7 separate regions of the Homo sapiens genome follow, and regions 2, 3, 4, 5, 6 and 7 are each linked to region 1. Evidence: promoter capture Hi-C in 16 types of primary human blood cells and fetal thymus (Javierre and others, 2016). All regions are on one chromosome and are shown on one strand. The core of a region is centred on a gene start or on the middle of the fragment in contact, and the rest is flanking DNA. Distances in the headings are between cores, read along the strand shown. Region 1 holds the start of UBE2U (ubiquitin conjugating enzyme E2 U). Region 2 overlaps EFCAB7 (EF-hand calcium binding domain 7). Region 3 overlaps PGM1 (phosphoglucomutase 1). Region 4 overlaps PGM1 (phosphoglucomutase 1). Region 5 overlaps PGM1 (phosphoglucomutase 1). Region 6 overlaps PGM1 (phosphoglucomutase 1). Region 7 has its middle 15 kb from the start of PGM1.

Region 1 (4,062 bases), core at 308-2,807:
TCCTATACTTGAGGAGTTGTTCCAATGGAGGGACAAGAATGTATTTCATAGAAAACCTTATGAATTACGTTAAGTAACACACTTACAAACACATAAAAACACTTCTGAGCATCCACATAGTTATTAAGTATGTTAGTGCTTGTCTGGGTGAGCCCTGTCTCTCTATTATCTATATTTACATATTCCTTCATTGGATTCTCTTTCAACAGAGAACTACAGAGCTCAGGATGAGCAGAAACAATATCAAATGTTAGGTCCATGCCCCAGGAATGTTCGCTGTTGGACTCCATAATTGTTCCTAACATCTCCAGTGAATGCAGTACTTTTATAGCAGAGGTAAAAAATGAACAATGCCACTGAACTACACCTGAAGCAACTGTGGGAAGCACTCTATACCTTTCATGGACAGCTTTCTTTCTGTTCTTTCTCTTAAGCACTCCCTCTTCGCCCCCTCTTCCATTTTTCATTTTCCGTAAATCAGCCTGTGGCAGCCATGGACATTGATAACCTCATTGGTGGCGTTTAAGCCCAAGGACATTGCTTCTTTTGTGTTAAAACTATAAAGGGAAGGCATTTATGTGTCATGCTGGTAAAAGTACACTAGACAGTAAGCAGTGGAACACAGGAATTAAGAACTAGGGCTTTGAAGTCCAAAAACCCTGTAATGGAATCATGGGGCAAAATCTTTACAGAATATTTCTGAGGCTTAGGTTTTTGGTAAGTAAAATGAAATACTACTTATTGTATAGTATTATAATTAATGAGCATAAGCCTGCACCTACTAGTCACTAACTACATGACAGACCCTGATATTCAGTGCCTAGATCCACATAAATTACTCTGCATAATATGTTCAATATTGTTAAGCATTATTATTTTGAAGTAATAATAATTGTTATTAATATGAAACACATTACTTCAGTGAAATGGATTTATTAAATAACAATACTGTAGTGGCAAATCAGGTTTAACTAAATTACTACTTATAGAATAAAATGGGTTAAACTGCCTCTTAAAAATTATTGCACAATGAAACACATCTCTCCACGTGCCCAGTACTTACCTTATAATTGTTCTCCTTGAGATCACAGAAGTCTCTGTGCAGCAAGAGGTAAGCTCTGCCGTGCATGATAGGCAGCGGAGGGTCTGACACTTGTCCCCAAATGCCTCAGGTTTACTCTGAGGCAGATGTTTGAAGTTATGGGTCACTTTCCCACACTTAGTAAACTGATATAAGTTACTTGCTTTCTAGAACCTCAGAACGGTACCAAGATAAGCGGCTTCTAAAGTTGGGATATAACAATGACTTTTTCTCCTGACTCCTCTAAACGAGAACTTCCCGAAGGAAGACTTGGGCACTTCCTCATCTGCGGCGTTTCACTGCAGTGCCGGCTCACAGCCCAGTCTCAAGACAAACTTGGATGAGTAACGGAGACAAGCCCATGTCGTCGGCGCGTGAGTGGGAGTGAGAGGTGTACGCCTATCAGGGTCCTAGCAGGTTGTCTTCGCTTCACAGGTGCAACCCCGCAGCCACGCACCGGAGGAAGCAAATCGGTTGCCAACCAACAGGCCCCCGTGGGGCCGCCGAGAGACGGAGGCAGGGGGTTGGCCGCTCTCACCCAATCAGCGACAGGGGGCAGGCCTCTTGCTATCTCCACAGCCAATCCTACAACAGTTTCCCCTTTGAAAGGCCAATGAGATTCGTGGTCAAGGCAACACCACGCCTTCTCAGGCCACGAACATGGACTGTACAAAACTAGTGTAGAGGATGGGGTGAGGTCCCAGGACCCAGCATGTAAGTCACAGAAGCCGTCCCACGAAGTCTTTCTTCGAAATTATCCTTCCTTTTTCTTTGACTATCAAAAGATATAGTAAGTGACTGGTAGGTACAGGTCTGCATAACAATATCTTAACTTACATGGCGAGTTACCATTCACAGTAGTGTGCATGCTATTATGTCATCAAACCCTACAATCACCCTGGGAAAGTGCTCCAGGAACAGGGAACTGCTTAAAATTTCTCTGATTCCCATCTCTTCCCGCACAGTTTCGCACCTGCTGTTCCTTCTACCTAGGAGTTTACCACATTCCTTCCACCCCTTCAGCCCTCATTTCCCCTTCACTCACTCATCCTTCAGATTTTAACGACTCTTTAAGGGATCCTTTCTTTTGTGATCCCACAGGACCTTCTATTTGCCTCCTAGTTAACATTTGCCATACGGCATCACAATTGTCTATTGTCTTCACCAGAGTGGGAACTACTGAAAGACACGGTTCCATTGCCAGCGCCAACTACAAAGCCTGGCATCTTTGTTCAGAATACTTTCTTTTTTTACTTTTTACTTACTAATTTTATAGAATCCGGATGTTCATTTAGTCCATTCATTTTACAAATATTTATTAAATACTTTTTTTTTACTTGAAAGATTCAAATGAAGTAAATGTCTTTATGGCTCCAATATACAATAAACAAGTATGCAAAACAAAAATCATGATTTCAGATGGTGATAAACGTTATGTGGACAATAATAAAACAGTACCATGATAGAGATTGGGGTAGGTCATTAAGGATTAGAAATGGTAGTCAGGAAATGCCTCTGTAAGGAATGGGGTTTTGAACTCATACATGAAAGATGAGAAGGAGCCTGCTACATGAAATATTGAGGGCAGAGAGTTCTAGGAAGAGGAAAACAAGATATTTTTGAGTCAGGAAAGAGCTTGTCTTGAAAAGGGAACAAGGGAAGGTCAGGGAGGTTGTGGAGGAGCCTGGGAGGGGTGTGATAAAGATGGGCACTATACAGTAGGAAGTTTGGGCTTTATTTGAATAGCTATGGGAATCCATTTAATGGGTTTAAACAGGAGAGTGTCATGCTCTGATTTATTTATTTATTTATTTATTTATTTATTTATTTTATTGATCATTCTTGGGTGTTTCTCGCAGAGGGGGATTTGGCAGGGTCATAGGACAATAGTGGAGGGAAGGTCAGCAGATAAACAAGTGAACAAAGGTCTCTGGTTTTCCTAGGCAGAGGACCCTGTGGCCTTCCGCAGTGTTTGTGTCCCTGGGTACTTAAGATTAGGGAGTGGTGATGACTCTTAACGAGCATGCTGCCTTCAAGCATCTGTTTAACAAAGCACATCTTGCACCGCCCTTAATCCATTTAACCCTGAGTGGACACAGCACATGTTTCAGAGAGCACAGGGTTGGGGGTAAGGTCACAGATCAACAGGATCCCAAGGCAAAAGAATTTTTCTTAGTACAGAACAAAATGAAAAGTCTCCCATGTCTACTTCTATCCACACAGACCCGGCAACCATCCGATTTCTCAATTTTTTCCCCACCCTTCCCGCCTTTCTATTCCACAAAACCGCCATTGTCATCATGGCCCGTTCTCAATGAGCCGCTGGGCACACCTCCCAGACGGGGTCGTGGCCGGGCAGAGGGGCTCCTCACTTCCCAGTAGGGGCGGCCGGGCAGAAGCGCCCCTCACCTCCCGGACGGGGCGGCTGGCCGGGCAGGGGGCTGACCCCCTCTCCCCCCTCCCGGACGGGGCGGCTGGCCGGGCGGGGGGCTGACCCCCCCACCTCCCTCCCGGACGGGGCGGCTGGCCGGGCAGAGGGGCTCCTCACTTCCCAGTAGGGGCGGCCGGGCAGAGGCGCCCCTCACCTCCCGGACGGGGCAGCTGGCCAGGCGGGGGGCTGACCCCCCCACCTCCCTCCCGGACGGGGCGGCTGTCTGGGCGGGGGGCTGACCCCCCCACCTCCCTCCTGGACGGGGCGACTGGCCGGGCAGAGGGGCTCCTCACTTCCCAGAGGGGGCGGCTGGCCGGGCGGGGGGCTGACCCCCCCCACCTCCCTCCCGGACGGGGTGGCTGCCGGGCGGAGACGCTCCTCACTTCCCAGACGGGGTGGCTGCCGGACGGAGGGGCTCCTCACTTCTCAGACGGGGCGGTTGCCAGGCAGAGGGTTTCCTCACTTCTCAGACGGGGCGGCCGGGCAGAGACGCTCCTCACCTCCCAGACAGGGCGGCGGGGCAGAGGTGCTCCCCACATCTCAGATGATG
Region 2 (3,826 bases), core at 1,327-3,826, 650 kb after region 1:
GAAATGGGTAGTCTTATTTGAGATGGCATCTCTTTTGTGTGCATTATTGTGAGAAAAGCAGCAGAGACATAACTGTGTAAAACCGGTTGACTGATTAATAGCTTAAAACATTTAGAAGCCGGGCACGGTGGCTCACGCCTGTAATCCCAGCACTTTGGGAGGCCAAGGCAGGTGGATAGCCTGAGCTCAGGAGTTCAAGACCAGCCTGGCCAACATGGTGAAACCCCATCTCTACTAAAAATACAAAAAATAAAATTAGCCCGGCATGCTGGCATGCACCTGTAGTCCCAGCCACTTGGGAGGCTGAGGCAGAGAATCACTTGAACCTGGGAGGCGGAGGTTGCAGTGAGCTGAGATCGTGCCACTGTACTACAGCCTGGGTGACAGAGTGAGACTCAGTCTCAAAAAAAAAAAAAAAAAAAAAAGTTAAGAGTTTAAAGTTATTCATAACTTTTTCAAGGGGAAAAAATAAATGCAGATTAAATTCAATCATGAAGAGAAATGGTAGCCACAAAAATCGAGGTTAGAGCTACTATGTAGAAACGATGAAAAAAATATTTGACATATAATACAAATACATTAAGAAACCTATCTAGATACTGTACTATAGAGACTATCAAAAACGAATCTACTTTTTAAAACTTAAAATTCTCAATCCTCATTAATTTTTAAAAAATTAACACTTGGGCCAGGCGCAGTGGCTCACGCCTGTAATCCCAGCACTTTGGGAGGCTGAGGCGGGCAGATCATGAGGTCAGGAGATCGAGACCATCCTGGTTAACATGGTGAAACCCCATCTCTACTAAAAATACAAAAAATTAGCCGGGCGTGGTGGCGGGTACCTGTAGTCCCAGCTACTCGGGAGGCTGAGGCAGAATGGCGTGAACCCGGGAGGTGAAGCTTGCAGTGAGCCAAGATCACGCCACTGCCCTCCAGCCTAGGCAACAGAGCAAGATTCCATCTCAAAAAAAAAAAAATTATTAACACTTGACTCCAAGACTTACTATAAAGCCACAGCAATCAAGACAGTGTGGTAATGGTGAAATAATGATGAATAGATCAATGGAACAGAATAGAGAGCCCAGAAATAGACCGACATAAATATATTCAACTGATATTTGACAAAGGAGCAAAGGCAATTCAATGGAGAAAGGATAGTCCTTTGTAAATGATATTGTAATGGTGGATACATGATGTTACATATTTGTCAAAACCCATAGAACTGTACAAGACAAGAGTGAACCCTCCAGGGGTTTGAGACCAGCCTGGGCAACATGGTGAAACTCATCTCAACAAAAAAATACAAAAATTAGCCAGGTGTGGTGGCACACACCTGTAGTCCTAGCTACTCAGGAGGCTAAGGTGAGAGGATCGCTTGAGCCTGGAGGCAGGGGTTGCAGTGAGTTGAGATTGCACCACTACACTCCGTCCTAGGCTAACAGTGACTCAAACAAACAAACAAAAAGACTGAACCTAATGTAAACTATGAACTTTAGTTAATGATTATGTATCAATAATTCACTCATCAATTGTAACAAAGGTATCATACAAATGCAAGATGTTAATAATAGGGAAAACTTGTGGGTGAGGAGGAATATATGGAAGATTTCTATTTTTTTTTTTTTTTTTTTTTTTTGAGACAGAGTCTCACTCTGTCACCCAGGCTGGAGTGCAGCAGCATGATTTTGGCTCACTGCAACCTCCACCTCCCAAGCTCAAGTGATTCTCCTGCCTCAGCCTCCCAAGTAGCTGGGATTATAGGTACCTGCCACCACACTTGGATAATTTTTGTATTTTTAGTACAAGTGGGGTTTCACCATGTTGGCCAAGCTGGTCTTGAATTAATGACCTCAAGTGATCCACCCACCTCAGCCTCCCAAAGTGCTGGGATTACAGGCCAATTTTTTTTTTTTTTTCTTTTTAAGAGACAATTTGCTCTGTTGTCCAGGCTGGTCTTGAAATCCTGGCCTCAAGTAATCCTACTGCCTTAGCCTTCCAGAGTGCTAGGATTATAGGCATGAGCCACAGCACCCAGCCTGTTTTTTCTGTAAACCTAAAATTGCTCTAAAAATAAAGTTTATTAGGAGGCAGTGCTTGCAGTGAGCCGAGATCACGCCACTGCACTCCAGCCTGGGCAACAGTGTGAGACTCCATCTCAAAAAAATAAATAAATAAATAAACAAAATAAAGCTTATTAATAAACAAAATAAAAATAAAGCATCTTTAAGTGTAAAAAAAGTTTATTAAAATAATCTTACAGATAAACAGTACATTTTCTTATTATTCAGGGGAAACATTAAAACCTTAAAAGCTCTCATTTCTTTGCAATATTATTAATGTTGGTAAAGTAGACATTCCTCCAAATCATTTTTCAAGTCAATAACTCTTGGAGACTTTTTGATAGCATTGAGTTCAAAGTTCTGGAGCCTATCTGTGAAACTTTCTTGCTGTGTAGCCTTGGTCAGGTTACTTAACCTCTAATTCTATTTCCTGATTTATAAAGTGAGAATAATAAAGTACTACTTCATAGAGTTGGTGTGTAGAAGTGCATAGATCAGCAGCTGGTACATGGTAGATGGTAAGCTATCAAAAAATGTTAACCGTCAACTCTGCCAATTCAATTAAAATTTTAAATTAGAATTTTACTTATCACAAACTTTACCATCAGAAAGCCACAAATTCACTCTTATGGAATGTTCTCTAGTGCCAATTAAAAGATTATATCATTAAAGTTACAAGATAATTACATCTTCCTATAGGTAATACTCTATTATGTATATTATGAATTTTATTAATCACAGTTTAATATTATAAATCAATATACATGTATTGCTGTTGATTATATTAACTTTCAGCTAAAATAGAAATACTGAAAGATTCCTTTATATAAATAATATACTTCTCTACCCTACTTGCTGTCTAGGTAAACAGACTCCCAACCTGGCTCACTTTGCCAAGCTTAGACCATTTTAAGACCCACATATAGCTATCCCAGTGAAAGCATACGTGAGTTAATCTCTCTTGACTGAATTCTGGTCTCCTCATACCTCTTGTTCTGTGATCTATAGTTGGCTATGGCTTTTTGGTTTTCCCTCGACCTTGGGGTCTTTGGCTTAAATATGCAAGTATGTCTTCCCAGACTCCTTCTAAGTGATAACTGACTTTGCCTCATTCTCAGTGATTTTCTTTGTCCATCTTGGCATTTTTGGCTTCAATATTTCCATAAATGGACTTTTTAAATTCAACTCAAATACGAAAAGCACTGAAGAATGTTTAACATGTATAATATAAGCAACTTCCTGGAAACCTTAATTTGTGAGTAAAACTCTAGCTTTTTGGCTTTTTGCTGCCCTCTCCTGGTCACAGTTTGTGGTTCTTGACCACTTCAGGCCCAGTGGTATCAAGCGCAAGGACAAGTTTTTTGTCTTCTAAACCCCGAAGAGTAGAGAATCAAAACTAAAATTATGATTAAGTAATTCACACTTTCTTTTAACTTGAGTATTATACCAACTATCGGTTTAAGAAAAATAAATGTTTAAGTTTTTATGATCTACAAACAATACTACTTTCAAACTGTCCTAAATGCTATAATAATATTTCATGCAGAAGTTTGACTTCTCATTTCTTAGAGATGAAAAGGTGCTATATATATATTTTTATACATCTGTTAAGGAAAAGAAAAGTGCTTACCTCTGCAGACAGCCCAAGCATCTTCATCACATTTCTCACCACTTGTTCTCAATTCAAAAAAATTATATTCTTCAAGGCTAAGAAGACCATTTCCATCTAAATCAATTACTTCAAATATATCTGATAAAGTAGACCT
Region 3 (3,656 bases), core at 28-2,527, 590 kb after region 1:
AAAGACTATATGAGATCATGTAAAGTGCTCAGCACAGTGAATATCATTACATGTAGGTTTTCATGCAGGCTTAATAACAACTCAGTGGTGTAGGTATTCTCACTATTCCCATTTTACTGATAAGGAAACTGAGGATTAAAGAAGTTACACGAGTTGCTCCAGGACTCACAATAAATTGGAAAGGCAGGCTTCAACACCAGTTTTAAAGCCAAAGCTCACGTTTCTCATCATTGGGCTATGTATGGCTCCTTTGGATGATCAAATTTGTTTAAACTTGAAGAAAATTAAGAGGAAATAGATCCCAAGTGACTCCCAAAGGGCTACTGCCCAAGTGCAAAGTATATGTGCTTTGGTGTCTGTACAAAACCCACCTGCATTTGGTGGACAGAGTATAGATGTCATGGTTGAATGGTGCACTACTCCCGCCCCCTCCAAAAAAAAAAAAAAAAAAAGATACATTGAAGTCTTAACCCAGGAACCTGGGGATGTGACCTTATTTGGAAATAGGGTCTTTGCAGATGTAATCAAGTTACAATGAGAGCATACTGGATTAGGGTGGCCCTAAATTCAATGACAGGATTTAGGAGAGGGAAATTTGGAGACAGAGACAGAAGAGATACATAGGGAAGAATGCCACGTGAAGACAGAGGTAGAGATTGAAGTTACACTGCACCAGGGATTGCTAGCCACCACCAGAAGCTAGGAAGAGGCAAGGAAAGAGTCTCCCCTAGAGCCTTCAGAGGGAGCATGGTCCTGCTGTCACCTCGATTTCAGACTTCTAAGCTGCCAGAAGTGCAAGAGAATAAATATCCATTGTTTTAAGCCACACAGTTTGTTACAGCAGATAGCAGCCCTAGGAAACTGCTAAGTGCTTAAAAAAAAAAAAAAAAAAAAAAGATAAGCCAACTCCTTTTGCAGCAGAGTGGCTGGTCTGAGTGACAGGCAGTCTGGGTAGACTATTCCTCTACCCTGCCCCCCAACCCCCTACACCTTTTCTTTGCCTCAGAGTGTTTGGTTTCTAGCATTAAGTAACCCTGCATGGGCCATGCTCCATATACACAAACAAGCTTCCTCCTTTGCTCTGTGGTATGGAGAGACTGCATCTCACTCATTTTTAACCTCAGTACCTGGAATGGGGTTGGGCACATACAGATAGTCAATAAATGTGTGAGTGACTAAAATATTTAAGTGAGAGCATCAAACGACCCCTGTAATTAGTGTTTCTGAGCAAGGAGGCGAGTTTTCAGGCAGGAGTCAGGAGTGGTTTCCCTTCCTGAGACCAACCTCAAATAGAAAATTACTCCCCTAATCACAGACAACTTCCCAAAGCACAAGGTGTCTACAACAGAGGGCACTCTGCCTGGAACTGGCATTCCAAGTAGTTGCAATAGCACAAAGTCTTGTGCAACAATTACGAACAGAACTAGAAACTGCAATAGTGAAGGAAGTAGAGCCAGTTAGTCTGCATGGTTGAGGCTGAAAGCTTATAATTGCTTCCCAGGATAACTGCAGGCAGAGTGATGAAGGAGGGGTCTTCATGGCGCTACTCAACATGAGGTAGAAAAGTGGTGAGAGTAAGAGAGAAAAAGAGATGAATGCAAGCGAGAAAAAGAGGGTCCCAGCTGACCTAGCATCCCAGCCCCTTTCCTAATATTAGAGCAGTAGGATACAACACAACCACACTGTATGTCAAAATTTTTTTTGCGTCTATAAATGTATAATTTAACTTAGTGAACTATATATCAATCATTCTACGTATGGGTTCAGGCCAGTTGACCCAAGTTAGAAGGCCTGTCCCAGTGAAGACAGTAGGTCACATGCAGATGGTGTCACGTGTCACGTAACCTGCTGGTTAAAGAAAGAGAGTCAGAGCAAACTGATAGAGCCTTTTTTTTTTTGAGACAGAGTTTCGCTCTTGTTCCCCAGGCTGGAGTGCAATGGTGTGATCTCGGCTCACTGCAACCTCTGCCTCCCAGGTTCAAACGATTCTCCTGCCTCAGCCTCCCAAGTAGCTGGGATTACAGGCACGCGCCACCATGCCCGGCTAATTTTTGTATTTTTAGTAGAGATGGGGCTTCACCATGTTGGCCAGGCTGGTCTCGAACTTCTGACCTAAAGTGATCCACCCACCTTGGCTTCCCAAAGTGCTAGGATTACAGGCCAGGCGTGAGCCACCACGTCCAGCTCCTGATAGCCTTAATATGTTACTGGGCAAATACTTCAACCCAATCCTCCTTACAAATAGCATTTTCTGAGAAGGAGTCTCGCTCTGTTGCCAGGTTGGAGTGCAGTGGTGCAATCTCGGCTCACTGCAACCTCCACCTCCCCTGGTTCAAGCGATTCTCCTGCCTCAGCCTCCCGAATAGCTGGGACTACAGGCATGTGCCACCACACCCAGCTAATTTTTGTATTTTTAGTAAAGACAGGGTTTCACCATGTTGCCCAGGATGGTCTTGATCTCTTGACCTTGTGATCTGCCTGCCTTGGCCTCCCAAAGTGCTGGGATTACAGGTGAGAGCCACTGCGCCCGGCCTACAGATAGCTTTTTAGGTTTTTGATCCTGTCTCCAAAATCCTCCCTTCCCTCAGGGCCATAAGAGAATTCCCAGGCTGGGCCTTAGGATAATTCCCAGACTGGGTCTTATGTTGGCCTGTGTATAAAAGAAAGCCTCAGGGGTTAAGGACCTGTGTGACCTCAGGGGTTAAGGCAGCTGAGTCACCGGCGGCCTCCCTCTTCCCTTCCTGCAATGCTGGAGTTAGGATGAGTCCTACTTTACAGTCTAAGGCTGTGCTTTTACTTTCTACAAGGATCTCCTTGTTTTGCAAGGGCTGCTCCCACTACACAGAATGTCTTCTTCATACCCCCATGTCTACACTTTTTCCTGGCTTCCTCTTTATCATCCTTCAGGACTTGGCTTAAACACATCTCCCCTGGGAAGCTTCCTCTGACCACCCCTGCGTGTTCCCCTCCCTAGGGCCCCCAATACACCCTAACGAGGCACTTCTCACACTATATTGCAATGCCCACTTGCGGAGACCGTTTTATGCACTACTGCATGCCCCAAATACACAGCACTGTATTAAGCAATAAGAAAACATTCAGTAAATGTTTCAGGGATGGAAAGCACCCCATCAAATCTTATTCACGGAGATTTCTGGAGCAAGTGGACCTAATCAACTATTCACCAGAACCACTATCCTAAAACCATAAGGGGTAGACCTGGCATACAAACACCAAACACCGTAACCAGTACTTAAGCTACTCAGGATCAATTTTGCTTACTTTGGGGCTGGCTGCTGTGTTCTTTTGAGAAAACTTAAGTATCAGGCTGACGACATATTACTGAAAACCTAAAGTTATACAGAACAGTTCTCCCTCCCCCCAGGCTCTGTGCATGAAACACTCTCTGTAAGAAAGATATTTCTGTTCTGAAATTTATAAGCTAATAGGTGTAGAGCATCTTGACAGGTCATTGGCAAATCTGGGAAGAAGAGAAGTTAAAATGAGGGGGTAATGGCCGGGAAACCTTTTGCAAGAAGTTTAAAGTGTCTGTATTTCCCATCAAAACCCCCAACATATTAATTTCACAAATGAGTAAAGAAGCAGCTCAAGCAATTTGCCCAAGATTAAACAGCTAATAACTACCATGTCCAGGA
Region 4 (3,876 bases), core at 1,356-3,855, 540 kb after region 1:
AGGAGATGACACTCCCCAGAACCACAGTGAGCTTGGCCTCTGCTTTCACTCCCTATGAGGCAGAGCCCAGCCACTGGAAGCCTGGCCACTGTGTAGGCCTGGGGCACATCGCTGAACAGGAAACTGCTTCTCTGAGAGAATAGCTGAATGTCAAGAGGGAGAGAAAAAGTGAAATTTCAGAATTGGGCCCCAAACAGTTCCAACCCAATTTTCTCACTGTAATTCTCACCACACCCCAAAGAAAACAAGCCTGACTCACAGACCACATCAACGCTGGAAGGCGGGGAAGCCTGGCTGGGTGCTGCTGCCCGCCTCTCAGGACTCCTCTCCCGCACTCCCTGGGGCACACACACTGCGGCATCTCTTTGGAAGCCCTGGAGAGACACAGTGATCCTTACTACCCACACCCACCTCCACTGCCCCATGGCTCCAGCCACCTCCTTCTTCCTCCCCTGAGCTTTTAACTTCCAAGCTGTTGCCAAGTGGAGGCAGGAAAAGCAGTTGAAATACGATCAGGGAGGAGGAAATTTTTGAAGCCATTCCAGGGGCCACAGAACTGGGAGTATCCGCAGCTGATTCAAGAGATGAGGAGGCAGAAAAGGGTCAGGAAACATGAACGATACTTAGGGTCAGAATTCCAGTTCCATCACACGGTAGCTGAGAACCTGGGGCAAATTAATGAGCTTCTGTTGAGCTTCAGTTGCCTCAACTGGAAAGCGAGAAGAATGATGTCTTGCTTCGAGGGTTACTGGAAAGCATCTAGCCCAACATCTGAGATAGAATAGGTGCTTGGAGAATATGTAGGTTTTACCTACACAACTCATAACATTTATCCCATACAGTTTCTACTTGTGCTAGATTCGATTCCCCTGGCAAGTCTTACAGGCAGCTTGATGGCATGGGCTCTGTGTTATACAGCTCTTCCTCCCAAGCACCTCACACTTAATGTGGATCAATACATATTTCCGGGCTGACTGATACATCCAGATATCCAGATCTCTGCAGGAGCTAATATAATGCCAAAATAACAGATTCTTTGGCATCCAGAGCACACAGTATCCCCCTTTAATGCGTAAAGCACAGGGGCATTTGCACACCTTTCTTCCACGTTAGGTGTAGCCTAGAAGTAGACAGTCCGTAGAAGAAATCTGAAGTGGTTTGAACCCTGTAGGGCTGGAGCTGCACTGTCTGGGAGCATCTACCACTCCCCAGCAGTGTGATCTTGGTTGAGTAACTGAACCTCATCTGTAAAATGGGAATATTCAGAGTACCTACCTCAGAGTTGTCAGGAAGATTTAAAGAATATATGGAAAGCGCTCAGAAAGAATATATGGAAAGTGCCTGGCAAGGGGTTAACGTTCCAGACAAACTCATCACCACCACCACCATCATTGTCATCATTGTCAAAGCATAGTTTTGTTTGCTGAGCTGGCAACAATGGAAATCTTACCCCAGATAAAGATCCTGCCACCTGTATCAGGGAGTCCATACTGAGTAGGGGAGGGGTACAGAGCTGGGCTGACTTTTTAGAATAGCCCATATGGCAAGGTGACTTTGTGAAAGTACCTTGGAAATGTAAAATGTGTTACAAATATTAGTGTTACAGTTTTTGTTTTTCCTGTATATACAGTACTTTAAAATCTAAAAATGGTATCATAAACATAATTCTAGTTTTCACTTATTTAACAATGTACCATGCACTAGATACTGTGCTCACTGCTTTACACAAATGTACTCACTTAAGGTACTCAACAATTCATAAAGGTAGAACTACTTTCATCCCCACTTTAAGGATAGGGTAATGATATTCAAAAGTCACTCAGGGTCTCAAGTGGGATTCAAACTTGGGTCTGTTGGCTCTCAAGTCTACGCTTATTTAACTATAATATACTCATGGATGGAATATAAGTGTTCTGAGCTGAATAAGATGCCAGTGGGCTCAGATTTTTGGCCAAATGTCAGTAACCCTGCTCTCAGATTCTGAGGGTTCTGCCTCCATCCCTTCAATAAGCGTCAAGGCATCTCCGCACTGCAGAGCACGTACCAGTGCTTTGCTATTTAAGCACTAGGAAGAGGAAAATCACTCTTCCTTTCCCTTGTTCCAAGTTAACCATGTCAAGCTTGATTTGTCTACCTTGGAAGAATCCAGAGCTCAGTTGACCCTGCTAAGATTTTAAATTACAATTCTCTTAAAATTTATGTTACTTTTTAGAATATTCAGGACAATAAAAAAAATTACAGTTCTTGAGTCTAAGGATTTGCAACCTAGCCTAGAGACCATTTCATTTTCTGACTAGGACATGAAAACAAAATACAATACTCCCCTCCTTCTAAAAAAAAAATTGTTTTTCTTTCTAAAATCAAAAAAGTACTTTGCAGTTAAGAAAAAAAGACGACAAGCAATTGTAGCTTATTTTCCTTTATTATCCCAAAATATCTGTGTGAATGGGACAATGTCGCAAAACAAGGCAGAAATCTGTAGCCAAGTACGTCTCACTCAGAGGAAAGAACTGATTGGACAGAAGGCACTAGAAATTGCATTTTGTTGGGTTACATGTAAACAGGAAATGGGGGGAAAGATTCACAAAAGAGAAAGGAACTTGCACCATCATTTCATTGCCACATCCTAAGGATGAAGAATGGCCTCACTCACTGCTGATGCTCCACCTATAGCTTACATTGTAGTGTAAACTGTACCTGATGGCTAAGGAGACAAATACCCACGCAGCAGCAATGCAGGAGGGCATGAAAAGGAATTGAGATTGATCTAAGCCCGCAGGTCCTCTTTCCCTCACAGCTCCCAAGGGCATCTTGTTTGGCAGTGCCTTGTAAATGCACTGCTCGTCAACTGGTTAGTGAAAAAGTCAAATCCTAAAATGCTTGGTGAATACATTTTGTTTCTGTCATGCTCTTCAATCAGATGACTTGGATGGGTCCGGGGGTGGAGGGACGTACCACATCAGGCCTGTCTTCTTAGGTGATGACAGTGGGTGCAGTGCGTCCCGTCCTCTCCTGCAGCTGGGACACTTTCAGAGCAATGGAAATAAGGGGGGCCAACATGACCTGAGGAAGACATAGAGAGAAGCTTTTCCATCACTTCCTCTAAACACAGATGCTTAGCTCCAAACCCGTACGTCTGACTGCCTACTTCCAGGTCTCCAAGGCTCCTCAAACTCCACAAATCCAAAAACAAACACATGTTATTTCCCCCAATACCTAGTTCCAGCAGTTTCTATTTCAGTGGATCAACACTACAGTCTTTCATGTAAAGTGAACAACTAGGAGTTGCTCCTGACATCTTCCTCTGCATTTTCCCCATGCCCAGTCCATGAGCAGGCCTCAATGACTTTTCCCCGCTAAATCTCTCTCCATGGCCCCCTTTTCTCTCCACTCTCCTGCTGTTAAGTCTTGCTAAGTCAATGTCCTGTCTCTTACCTGGAGCAGTGAGTGCCTCCACATCCACTTGTGCATCTTCCAATTTCTTTCCCACACTGTTCCCAATGGGACTGATGTGGTTTGGCTCTGTGTCCCCACTCAAATCTCATCTTGTAGCTCCCATAATTCCCAAGTGTTGTGGGAGGGACCCGGTGGGAGATGATTGAATCATGGGGGTGGGTCTTTTCTGTGCTGTTCTCATGATAGTGAATGGGTCTCATGAGATCTAATGGTTTTAAAAACAGGAGTTTCCCTGCACAATTTCTCTCTTTTGCCTGCTGCCATTCATGTAAGACATGACTTGCTCTTTCTTGCCTTCCACCATGATTGTGAGGCTTCCCCAGCCACGTGAAGTGTAAGTCCAATTAAACCTCTTTCTTTTGTAAATTGCCCAGTCTCAGGTATGTCTTTATCAGCAGTGTGAAAACAGACTAATACAGG
Region 5 (3,601 bases), core at 1,026-3,525, 570 kb after region 1:
TTCCTATCCTCAAGAGATGGGAATTGAAAAGAAATGATTGTATACCTCCATGCATAGCATCAATACGGATCTTCAGTCGGTTTGGCCCAGAAAGTAGTTCTTTCAGTGCACTGAAATCAAAGATGCTTCTCAGCATTGTAGCATAAGCTTCTACCGAATCCACAATTTCCACTGTGAGAACAAGCAACATCAAAAGATGGAAGGATTAAACACATTTAGAAATATTATATTCTGATGTGACTATATTGCTGTAAACCTGCTATTGCTATTTTAAAAGGACAATTATTGAACAGCTCCAATAATACGGCTGTTAAGTGATATCCGATACTATCTAATACTACCAATCCTTACCCAATACTAACAATTTTCCTGAGAGGTAAATGTTATTAGTCCTATTTGATAGATGAGGAAACTCGACGTGTGAAGGGTTAAGAAACTTGCCCACACAGCTTGGATGAGGCACACAGGGGATTTTCAACAGAGGTTGTATAAATTCTGCTATGCCACCACAGTGCTTCCCCATTCGTCATCTTGAGAGGTGTGTTTTGGTGTTATAGAGAGTAGAAAATGTAATCCCCACTTTTCTTTCCTTTTCTTTTTCCAAGTCCATTGTCATCAAGACTTAATGGTACTAAGTGGAAAATGAAATTTTTTAATGAATCACTTTTCACAGGTACTGCTTAAGGAATAAAACAAAAATAAAACTTATATAAATATAAGAACTTAGTATTGTTGTTCTTGTTGGATGTTCAAGGCTTCTGAACATTTTCAAAACTGCTGGATATTCAGGGGTTCTGAACATTTTCAAAATATGAAGAATTTAAGAAACTCCCTACTGGAATCTTCTGAACCTCAAGAATGTCTTCGAGATGACCAAAGTGTCACTTTATCTTTGTTAGGATGCAATTGTCAGCTCTCCCTGAGTAGGTTCAAACAAAAAAATGCAATCCATCCTTTAGCCAGGAACTAAATGACTAATAAAATGCATTCCATAAAGTTGCAATCCAGAAGAAAGAAAACATGTTAGGGCAAAGTCAAAATGCAAGTTCATTGCCAATCATCTCATCCTCATTTTATTAATCTGAATACTTTTATAAATATTTATTCTGTCAATTATTACAATAATTCAACAACAAAATGTTAGCCACAGCTGCCTATGTAGGGAGTTGCAATTTGGTCCCCCCAAAATAGTCTGATTGATTTTACTGAATGAGGAAAACTAAAATGGAAAGTGTAGTCTTGCGAATCATTCAAACCTGAGTTGAAATCTTCGTTTTGCCATTCACTGACTGTGACCTTGAGCCTGTTACTTAATCTCTCTCAGCCTTTGTTTCCTCATCTATAATAGTGAATGCTGACAGTGCTGCCCTGACAGATCTACTGTGAGAATAAAATGGATTAACACGTGTAAAGACCTTGGCATGTAGCAAGAGGTCAATAAAAGTTAACTATGAATGTAATCCTGCAGGTCTTCTAGTCAAGGCATGAAAACTGAGGCCTAGAGTGCTGGAAATGACTTACTCGATGTCATGCAGCTGATCCCTGGCAGGGCCCAGGGAGCCCAGGTCTCTGGTCTCCCAAACCTAATTCCAGACTTGTTAATTAACTAACACTTGCAAAGCTTACAGAGCACTCACGGAAATCTTTCCAAAGCTGAAGACCCTCTACTAAAACGTTGAAAGGAAAATCGCTCAACTTGGAAATAGGAGTGGGCAGAAAGAGGAGGAAAGTAAACATGCCTGTGAAGGGTTTGAACTTATTTTCCAAGTCAAACTGCTGCTTTCCCAGAACACCAAGGTCTACTTTCAGGTCAGGGCAAACTGCATATTCTTCAATTGTCTTGCTGATTTGGAAAATTTTATCAGTTATTGCTTCTGGAGCAGGACCTGGAAACCAAACAGCAAACAGTGGGTTACTTCGTGCAGCTCACATGGAAATACAAAGAATCCAAAGCTCATCAGTTCCTCTTCACTAGCACATCTACCATTTCATCATTCAGTCAGCAAAGTAGCAGGATTTTTCTAAAAGAAAATATCATGTTAAGGAAGATTTGCGCATGGCTCTTCATATTCAGGTACAGTCAAATGAGAAGCATTTCACTGTCACTGAAAGGAAGCAAAGAGCACCTCCCTACCCCCTGCAAAGGATCAGAACCAAAACCCTGGTCTCCCAAGGCTCCAGGTATTGATTTGTCCTACTGAATGTAAACTTACCTGTCCTCAAAATGACAGCAAACTCACCTCCATTAGAAATATTGAATTTGATTCCAAAATCTCCATTGGGGCCCCCTGGGTTGTGACTGGCTGTCAGAATGATCCCACCAATGGCTTTGATTTTTCTAATGATGCAGGATACAGCAGGGGTGGAGAGGATTCCATTCTGTCCGATAACCAAGCGACCGATCTAGGAGAAGAAATCCAGAACACACTCTTTAACATCAATACATCCAGAGTCACCGCTCAGAAACAACACCAAGACAACAGGCAGATGGACAAAAAAATAATAGTAATAATCTGTTGGACAAGAAAAGATTTTATTTAATAAAAATCTGCAGCTTGGATGTCTCCACCATATTACTGAAATAGAATCAGCAATGTTGAACAAATTCCTTCAGATGGTTTTCGGGACTTTGTAGTTTTAGAAGTGTGTGGTCTGTGTGCACTGTAAGGCTCCAGCATGAAAACACAGCATATTAAAAAGAGCCTTTCCAGATCGGGGCCACAATTTGGATGCATTGAAAGAATATGAGAAAACCCACATTTTTATCCAATTCAATCATACTTTCAATCCACAACGGGAGAAAAGAAAAGGTTTAGCTAATTAAAGGGATTCTACCCAAAGAGAAGGCTTTTTTAAAGTAAAAAGGGCAAATTTTATATCAAGATTATTGAAAAATGACTCATCAATTTATCTTTCCAGTCAAGCTTGGCTTTTTCATATAGTGGGTTTCCTCAAAGCAAGACACACCTACTTCTGTTACAGTGTACCTGGGTTACCTCCTGGGCCTAAGACAAGAATGCTGGAGTTATTCCTGAGTAAACCAGTCAGAATGACCTACATGAAAGGGCGACAGATGGGACTTCTGTTGCATTCTTAACTTACCTTCCCATATCTCTTACAGATGGTATCAGTACTGCTCCTAAATCTTTTTTGCTAAAATGACAGTAATTTATATCTGTTTCAACATGACTCAAGTTGGAAAAGAAGGTTGAGGTGCTGTCAGTTCCTCTTAAAAAACAGGGATTTTTTTACATTTTCCATTTGTTATTTCTTTTTGCTTCACCCAAGATAAACATGATTGAAGAAACAACTTGATGGTGGAAGATGTGTTTCTAGTGTTGAAAATGTCCGTGAGATACCTGGATTCCCTGGGGAGAGTTTCTCTGGGACTGTTGGCTCTGCCACCCTTCCATAGCCCATTGAAAACCGTCAACCACTCCACTACCAACCACCTCCCAAGGAGCACCTGGTTCCCTTCAGTTACCTCTTGGCTCTCATATGTCAATCTCCGAACAATTTTTGTTGTAGCTCCCCTAATATATTGGTTATATCCTGCCTTCCCCAGGAAATGGTAACCACCAGGGTGGATGCTGTCAGTAGG
Region 6 (3,585 bases), core at 1,072-3,571, 610 kb after region 1:
ATGAATGACAAAATAAACAAAACAATCTTTATTTTCACTAACATCTAACTGAAATTTAGCACCTCCTTTTATTATAAATGTAGGAAGCAAACCACAGTATTATTACTACTACTGCTACTATTACTACTACTACCTAGGAATTTATCATCAATAAAAATTATATTTTCATATCCTATTATAGTTATCTCAAAATACTGAGATTGCAGACGTCTCAAAACATCATTTATACTCACCACTACTTTGAAGTAAGGCAGTATTAAATCCTCCACAAATCTTCCTATGTCAGTAAAGAAGCATTATCTTGATATATCACAAATCTGGTTTTTTAATATTTTGATTATACTTCAATATAATTTTGCTTCCTTTGTAATGGTTTGTATTTTGTTTTATTCACTTAAAAATAAAAATACTCTGCCCGGCACGATGGCTCACACTTGTAATCCCAGCACTTTGGGAGGCAAGGCCGAGGCAGGCAGATCGCTTGAGCCCATGAGTTCGAGATCAGCCTGGGCAACTTGGTGAAACCCCATCTCTACAAAAAATATAAAACAATTAGCCAGGCATGGTGGCATGCACCTGTAGACCCCAGCTACTTAGGAGGCTGAGGTGGGAGAATCAACTGAACCTGGGGAGACTGAGGCTGCAGTAAGCCACGATCGCGCTACTGTGCTGCAGTCTGGGCAACAGAGTAAGACCATGTCTCAAATTTTTAAAAATATATATTCTGAGAAGGGGCTCCACAGTTTGCACAAATGAGTAGCAAAGGAGCCGTGACAAAAGAATCCCTGTAACTTGACAACAACAACAACAACAAATACCCTCCTTGCTCATAAGTTCCCACAAAGGTATTTATTTTATTTTGCTTAGGGTGGTGATAAATCATCCTTCAAAACATGCACACATTCATTTGTGAGCTTAAACTCTCCTCAATTTCTGATGCTGGTCATTTGCAGATCATTAGACCCAGAAGTGATTTTTAGAGACCAGGAATAGTTTCAACTAAAGAATTCGTTGGGATTCTCTTGGACTTTTCAGTAACATGGGCCAATAAAATTCCTTTTTCACTTGGAGTAATCCAAGTAAGGTTTTTGTCATTTGTACCCAATTGGGCTCTGACTAACACGGAACCCCTCTATATTGGTTGAGGCTGTTGAGGATTAGAGGAAGGTGGGAGACCATCTGGGTGGCTCATATCTGCATCACGTTGGATTGTGTCCTAATACCAACAAAACATTGATAACACACCTATCATTCGAACAGTTTCCAAGTGAGGTACTTGTAAATATGTTGTTTCATCTAATCCTCACAACAGGCTCTTCAGGTATGTATTATTCCCAACCTTTGTGGATGAAACAAAAAAGGACTAGAAATTTGTATTTGTATCTAATCTAAACTCCCTCAATTTGTATTCATTCTGCTAAGAATTCCTCCTACCAGACAAACCCACTCTGGGAACTCCAAGTCATTCTTTAAGACTCAATTCGGCTACCACCCCTCTATGGAGCCTCCCTCCCTTCATCTTCCCCTCCCAAGTACAGCCCCTCAGGTTAAAGACACCTGCACATCCCTCCATCACAACACCTGACACATTGTGCTGTCTGCTTACTCCTGTATACCACCCCTCCCAGACTATGTCTTTCCCAAGGGCAAAAATATTTTGTATCTCAAGTACAATGTCTGAGGCAAAGCAAGCACATAATAAATGTTTGATGTGAATAAATTTATTGGTCACCAGCTACATGCTGGCTTTAAATCAAGTGCTAGAATACAAAAGTGACTCACAGTTCAGAGCAAATAAACAAGAATTCATTGAATGCTACATAGTCCTAGGCATTGCAGATACAGGTAAAACACAGGTCTGACTTAAAGAAGCTTACTCTCTAGTTGGAGGCCGTTGACATGTAAACGGAAAATTTCACTAGAATTTAATATATATATTCTAGAATTATCTATGGGAAAGGAGCACTTAATAGGTGGAGAAGAGTGGTAGGGATGGGGTGTCAAGAAAGGTTTCTGAAGATGCCATCTGGACTGAATCATATCACAAGAGAAAGAGTAGCATATTTAAATCCCGAGTGAGTAGAGAGAGTGAACAAAATCAGAGAACAACCTGAGCGTAGAAACCTAGGGAATAGGCCAGGCGCAGTGGCTCACGCCTGTAATCCCAGCACCTTGGGAGGCCGAGGAGGGTGGATCACCTGAGATCAGAAGTTCGAGACCAGCCTGGCCAAGATGGTGAAACCTCATCTCTACTAAAAATATAAAAATTAGCCAGGTGTGGTGGTGCATGCCTGTCATCCCAGCTACTCAGGAGGCTAAGGCAGGCGAATTGCTTGAACCTGGGAGGCAGAGGTTGCAGTGAGCTGATTGCGCCACTGCACTCCAGCCTAGGCGACAGAGTAAGACTCCGTCTCAAAAAAAAAAAAAAAAAAAAAAGAAGAAGAAAAAAGAAAGAAAGAAAGAAGAAAGAAACCTAGGGGATAGTCAATGTGCAGCCCATGAAGGAACTTCCAAAAAGTGTGAGTAGAATCAGGAGAGTAAGCAAGGCCAAGGGAGGAAGAACTTTACAAGAGTACAAAATCAGCACTGCCAAATGCAGCAGAAAGGCCAAATAAGATTAGACCAGAGTGTATTCCATGAATTTAGCAACTGGCAAGTCCCTAGTAACTTTGGCAAGAGCAATTCTACTGGAGTAGTGGAGGGGGCAGAAGCAGTGAAATGGCGAGTAAACCGGAGGTGAGAATGAGAAATAGTGAATGCAGAAAGCTTTTACAAAGGTTGGCTGAGAGAAGAGCAATAGGGCAATGGCTAAAGGGTGATGAAGTTTTAAGAACTTTTTTTTTTAGTCTTAACTAATTCTTTCCTTCCCACCCCACACTACTCCCAAATGGACAAATTTCCATCTGGGCACCTAAAATTCCCACTCTGCTGTAAGCTCCTTAAGGACAACTCTTGGGTCTGCATCATCCTTTTAGTCCACACATTTCTCTGAACATGGTATTCAACAGGATCTGTTGAATGACTGACTGAATAAATGAATGAATGAATGAAATGCAAATTCAGCACAGGTGGTAACAGGGAAATGATCTACTGGGATACAGCTATTGTCTGTTCTTCTTTCATGGGAATTTGCGCTTGTCTGAAAATTCAGGACCACAAAGTAAACAAATCCAGGCAATCTTCTCTCACTGATGCTTATAAATGTTTGGCCCAGGAAGGCAGATGTAGATAGAGCCCAGTTTAGATTTTGGAGCCTGGAAAACAGATCTTCAAGATCAAGGGCTGTTCATTCTTCATTCTCAGGAGCTGTTCAAGTTCTTGGGATTGGCAGATCTATATTGGACTCTTAGTGCTGCCATTATAGTTTTTGTAAATTATTTAACCTACCTAAGCTTCAGCGTCCTCGTTGGCAACTTGAAGATACCCATAATAGCATCTACCTTATAGGGCTGCAGGAGGATAAATGAGACCCAGAAATGAAGCGCTTACCATAGTGCTTGGCAAATAGTACTCAATGTCAACAAAATAAGATAAATAAAGTACTATTAAAATGAATAAAAATATCCATTTCAGGGGATGCGTTCC
Region 7 (3,980 bases), core at 1,020-3,519, 630 kb after region 1:
ATGATTCTGGAAAAGAACAGTACCATTGGGGAAATCATGTTACCTGAATATAAGACTTACAATGAAGCTACTGTAATCAGGACAATGTAGTATTAGTGAAGGGAAAGACACATCGATCAATGGAACAGAATAGAGTTCAGAAATAGACTCATGCAAAGATATGGTTCTATATGACCAGTGAATTTTTCAACAAAGGTACAAGAGCAATTTAATGGAGAAAGGATAATCTTTTCAACCGATGATATTGGAATAACTGACATCCATATGAAAAAAAATGGACCTCAACCTAAACCTCAGAACTCATACAAAAATTAACTCAAAATGCATCACACATATAAATGTATGAAGTAAAACTATACAACTTTTAGAAGAAAGCAGAAGAAAAATCTTTGTGACCTGGGGTTAGACAACGACTTCTAACTTGACACCAAATGCATAATCCATTAAATGAAAAACTGATTAATTGGACTTCATCAAAATGTAAAACTTTCACTCTCTATACGATCCAGTTAAGAGAACAAAAAGACTATCTACAGAAGAGAAGAAAATACTTTCAAATAACATATCCAATAAAAGGCATATCCAGAATTTATAAAGAATCAAATGGTAAGAAAATGAAACTCAAAACTCAACAGTAAGAAAACAAATAACCTAATTTCAAATGGGCAAAAGGCTTGAAGAAGCACACCATCAAAAAGTATACTATGTATGCAGATGACAAGCCTATGAAAAGTTGTTCAACATCATTAGCCATTAGGGAAATACAAACTAAAATCACAATGAGATACCACTGCACATCTATTATAATGGCTAAAATAAAAAACGCAGACAATACCGAGTACTGATAAGGTTGCAGAATAACTGGAATTCTCCTACATTGCTGCTGGAAGTGCAAAATGGTACAGCCAATCTGGAAAACACTTTGGCGGTTTCTTAAAAAGTCAAACATATATTTACCATATGATCCAGCAGTACTACCTGTGGGTATCTACTATAGAGGAATAAAAACTTATGTTCATGTAAAAATCTGTAGATGAACTTTATAGCAGTTCTATTAATAGTTACCAAAAACTGGAAACCACCCAGCAGATGAATGCATAAACTGTAATACAATCATATAATAAAATACTACTCAGCAATAAAGGGAACTATTGATACATACAATTTGGATGATTGTCAAAGGCATTATGCTGAATAAAAGGATTCAGTCTCAAAAGGTTACATACTGCATGATTCCACTTATACAACATTCTCAAAAACAAAACTATAGTGATGAGAATAGAATAGTGGTTTCCAGGGGATAGGAGTATGCACAGGGGTAAGGTCATGGGGATGTGACTATAAGAAATAACGTGAGGGAGTTTTTTAGTGATGGGACTGCTCTGTATCCTGATTGTGGTGGTGGTTATATGAATCTATACATGTGTTACATTAATAGAACTGTGAAAGCTTCCCCCCAACCCACCAAAAAAGGGTCAAATTTACTGTATGATTTTTTTTTTATCTGAAATAAAAACCCCACAGGAAAAAAGTACTCGTTTTAAAATAGAAGTTCAAGAAGTAGAACAGTTTCTTCTGGGCTGAGAAAAAAATTAAAGGTTTCATGAAGGATGAGGTATTTAAAAAATGTATGTTACAGGTACAGACTGTAATACTTGTTCACAATCTGTCTTCTCTGATAGACTATGTATAATGAGGGCAGGAGCAGCGTCTGGCTTGTTCACCTCTATATAAGCAATAATTAAAGCAGTACTTTGCACACATTAGGGACTCAATTTATATATGATTGATCTATTGCTTGTGAGGCCGGGCGCAGTGGCTCACGCCTGTAATCCCAGCACTTTGGGAGGCCGAGGCGGGCAGATCACGAGGTCAGGAAATCGAGACCGTCCTGGCTAACACGGTAAAACCCCATCTCTACTAAAAGTACAAAAAATTAGCCGGGCGTGGTGGTGGGCGCCTGTAGTCCCAGCTACTCGGGAGGCTGAGGCAGGAGAACAGTGTTAACCCGGGAGGCGGAGCTTGCAGTGAGCTGAGATTGCGCCACTGCACTCCAGCCTGGATGACAGAGCGAGACTGTCTCAAAAAAAAAAAAAAATGTATGTTAGAGGTACAGCCTGTAATACTTGTTCACAATCTATCTTCTCTGACAGACTATATATAATGAGGGCAGGAGCAATGTCTGGCTTGTTCACCTCTATATAAGCAATAATTAAAGCAGTACTTTGCACACATTAGGGACTCAATTTATATATGATTGATCTATTGCTTATGATATTAATAGGCAAAGATACAATAACATTCTAGGAAAAGTGAAAAACATTAGAAAATACCTTAAATTTTCATTTCCTCTCCTCTTTCTAAATCCCTCCTATCTCTTCAAGGTCACTTAAAGTTCAGTTACAGAATCAGGTTCCCCTGATTCTTCCAGCCCACATTCATTTTTCCAACTTGTCCAAACTTGCTCTAACACTGTCAAACTTAATCTAACATTTTAGTGTAGTACTACTTAGTATTTTAAAGACTATGCCTCATTTCCTTTAATAGTTATTAAAATGTGTCCTCTTTTTATATTATTTAAATTTTAAAATACATTATATTACATGAGTAAAAACAAATCAAAGCACTACTTAGCTTCAAACTAAACTTCATTCCTTCAGTCCTCCAACAGATTTTCATCTACTTTCATCTACATCCTCTAAATTGGTCAAGCCTTCCCCTCCTCTTCTGTTTCCATATTCACATCATTAGTTTAATGCTTAATGACTGGCATTTATTAAGATTTAATATTATTCCCTAACAGGTTAACATGTAACTCATTTCCTTAGCTTTCTTGTCCTGAGGACAGAGATGACACCTACTACTTATTTATTTTAACTAATTAATATGTAATAGATACATGCTAATTGGATGTCCCTGTGTACTATTCCCTAGCCTAGTCTACTCCTATTTTTACTTCTCTACTAAGAAAAAACTTTTTTTTCAAAAGCCAATTCTGGATACTTTTGTAATGGATATTTAAAAAGGCAGAGAGAAATTTACTTTTTAGTAATTCCGCATACTATATCAGAAATTGCCAGAAAGCTTACAATACTGGCATTCTGGAACGATTTCATTTTCATAACATGCTGACATTAGCCTGAATCAGATAACTGAACTTAAGCTGGCCTTGAATTTAACTTGCTTACTCTTGTATTCAATTGGAAAGGTAAGAATACAATTAAGAATATGTATTAAATGTTGAATATTTATCAACTGTGTCTAAAAGAAGTTGAAAAATATTTAATTTTTGAGAAATGGAACCATACTCCAACTCCTTTATCATATGTAAGTCTTTTTTGTTAAATATTCATATATATTTTTAGAAATGTATTGGGTGAAAAAAAAAAAGTACTCTTTTTTTTTTGAGTCTTACTCTGTCACCCAGGCTGGAGTCAGTGGCAGATCTCAGCTCACTGCAACCTCAGCCTCCTGGGTTCAAACGATTCTCCTGCCTTAGCCTCCCAAGTAGCTGGAACTACAGATGCACACCACCACACCTGGCTGATTTTTGTATTTTTAGTACAGATGGGGTTTCACCATATTGGCCAGGCTGGTTCGAACTCCTGATTTTGTGATCCGCCTGCCTCGGCCTCTCAAAATGCTGGGATTACAGGCATGAGACACAGCACCCGGCCAAGAGCACTTATTATTATTTATTTATTTATTTGAGACAGAGTCTCTCTCTGTCACCCAGGCTGGAGTGCAGTGGGGTGATCTCAGCTCACTGCAAACTCTGCCTCCCGGGTTCAAGTGATTCTCCTGCCTCAGCCTCCCGAGTAGCTGGGATTATTACAGATGCCCGCCACCACGCCCAGCTAATTTTTTTTTTTTTAATTTTATTTTTAGTAGAGACGGGGCTTTCACCAGGTTGGCCAGGCTGGTCTCGAACTCCTGACCTCAGGTGATCCACCCACCTCAGCCTCCCAAAGTGCTGGGAT

What was found. The method cuts DNA at HindIII sites, captures the fragments that hold promoters and counts their contacts. A CHiCAGO score of 5 or more calls a contact.
Region 2: a fragment that was not itself captured here is called in contact with the fragment with the promoter of UBE2U in region 1 in 1 of 17 cell types (M1 macrophages); the score reaches 5.9 in M1 macrophages.
Region 3: a contact is called between a fragment that was not itself captured here and the fragment with the promoter of UBE2U in region 1, in 7 of 17 cell types (endothelial precursors, M2 macrophages, fetal thymus and 4 more). The highest score is 8.5, in endothelial precursors.
Region 4: a fragment that was not itself captured here is called in contact with the fragment with the promoter of UBE2U in region 1 in 4 of 17 cell types (M0 macrophages, M1 macrophages, total CD8 T cells and 1 more); the score reaches 5.8 in M0 macrophages.
Region 5: a fragment that was not itself captured here is called in contact with the fragment with the promoter of UBE2U in region 1 in 9 of 17 cell types (M1 macrophages, megakaryocytes, M0 macrophages and 6 more); the score reaches 7.7 in M1 macrophages.
Region 6: a contact is called between a fragment that was not itself captured here and the fragment with the promoter of UBE2U in region 1, in 1 of 17 cell types (M0 macrophages). The highest score is 5.6, in M0 macrophages.
Region 7: a fragment that was not itself captured here is called in contact with the fragment with the promoter of UBE2U in region 1 in 2 of 17 cell types (M0 macrophages and fetal thymus); the score reaches 8.1 in M0 macrophages.

Annotation. Positions count from the first base shown.
Region 1 is chr1:64,201,118-64,205,179 of GRCh38, reverse strand. UBE2U (ubiquitin conjugating enzyme E2 U) reads right to left here and starts at 1,557. Exons shown (of 10, transcript NM_001366232.2): 1 at 1,064-1,557. The coding sequence starts at 1,129. The HindIII fragment of the contact is 16,836 bases long and covers 1-4,062 here.
Region 2 is chr1:63,557,112-63,560,937 of GRCh38, reverse strand. EFCAB7 (EF-hand calcium binding domain 7) reads right to left here. Exons shown (of 14, transcript NM_032437.4): 10 at 3,691-3,824. Among named protein-coding and RNA genes, the nearest start is that of PGM1, 34 kb to the left of the region's middle. The HindIII fragment of the contact is 768 bases long and covers 2,193-2,960 here.
Region 3 is chr1:63,610,500-63,614,155 of GRCh38, reverse strand. All of the region lies in intron 1 of PGM1 (phosphoglucomutase 1), which reads right to left. Among named protein-coding and RNA genes, the nearest start is that of PGM1, 19 kb to the right of the region's middle. The HindIII fragment of the contact is 416 bases long and covers 1,070-1,485 here.
Region 4 is chr1:63,658,773-63,662,648 of GRCh38, reverse strand. It overlaps PGM1 (phosphoglucomutase 1), which reads right to left. Exons shown (of 11, transcript NM_002633.3): 11 at 2,404-3,063. The coding sequence ends at 2,974. Among named protein-coding and RNA genes, the nearest start is that of PGM1, 67 kb to the right of the region's middle. The HindIII fragment of the contact is 965 bases long and covers 2,123-3,087 here.
Region 5 is chr1:63,628,227-63,631,827 of GRCh38, reverse strand. It overlaps PGM1 (phosphoglucomutase 1), which reads right to left. Exons shown (of 11, transcript NM_002633.3): 2 at 2,241-2,403; 3 at 1,740-1,886; 4 at 46-171. Among named protein-coding and RNA genes, the nearest start is that of PGM1, 37 kb to the right of the region's middle. The HindIII fragment of the contact is 1,303 bases long and covers 1,624-2,926 here.
Region 6 is chr1:63,595,106-63,598,690 of GRCh38, reverse strand. The region is part of intron 1 of PGM1 (phosphoglucomutase 1); the gene reads right to left. Among named protein-coding and RNA genes, the nearest start is that of PGM1, 3.5 kb to the right of the region's middle. The HindIII fragment of the contact is 894 bases long and covers 1,875-2,768 here.
Region 7 is chr1:63,576,565-63,580,544 of GRCh38, reverse strand. It overlaps a transcript of EFCAB7 not described here. Among named protein-coding and RNA genes, the nearest start is that of PGM1, 15 kb to the left of the region's middle. The HindIII fragment of the contact is 1,635 bases long and covers 1,452-3,086 here.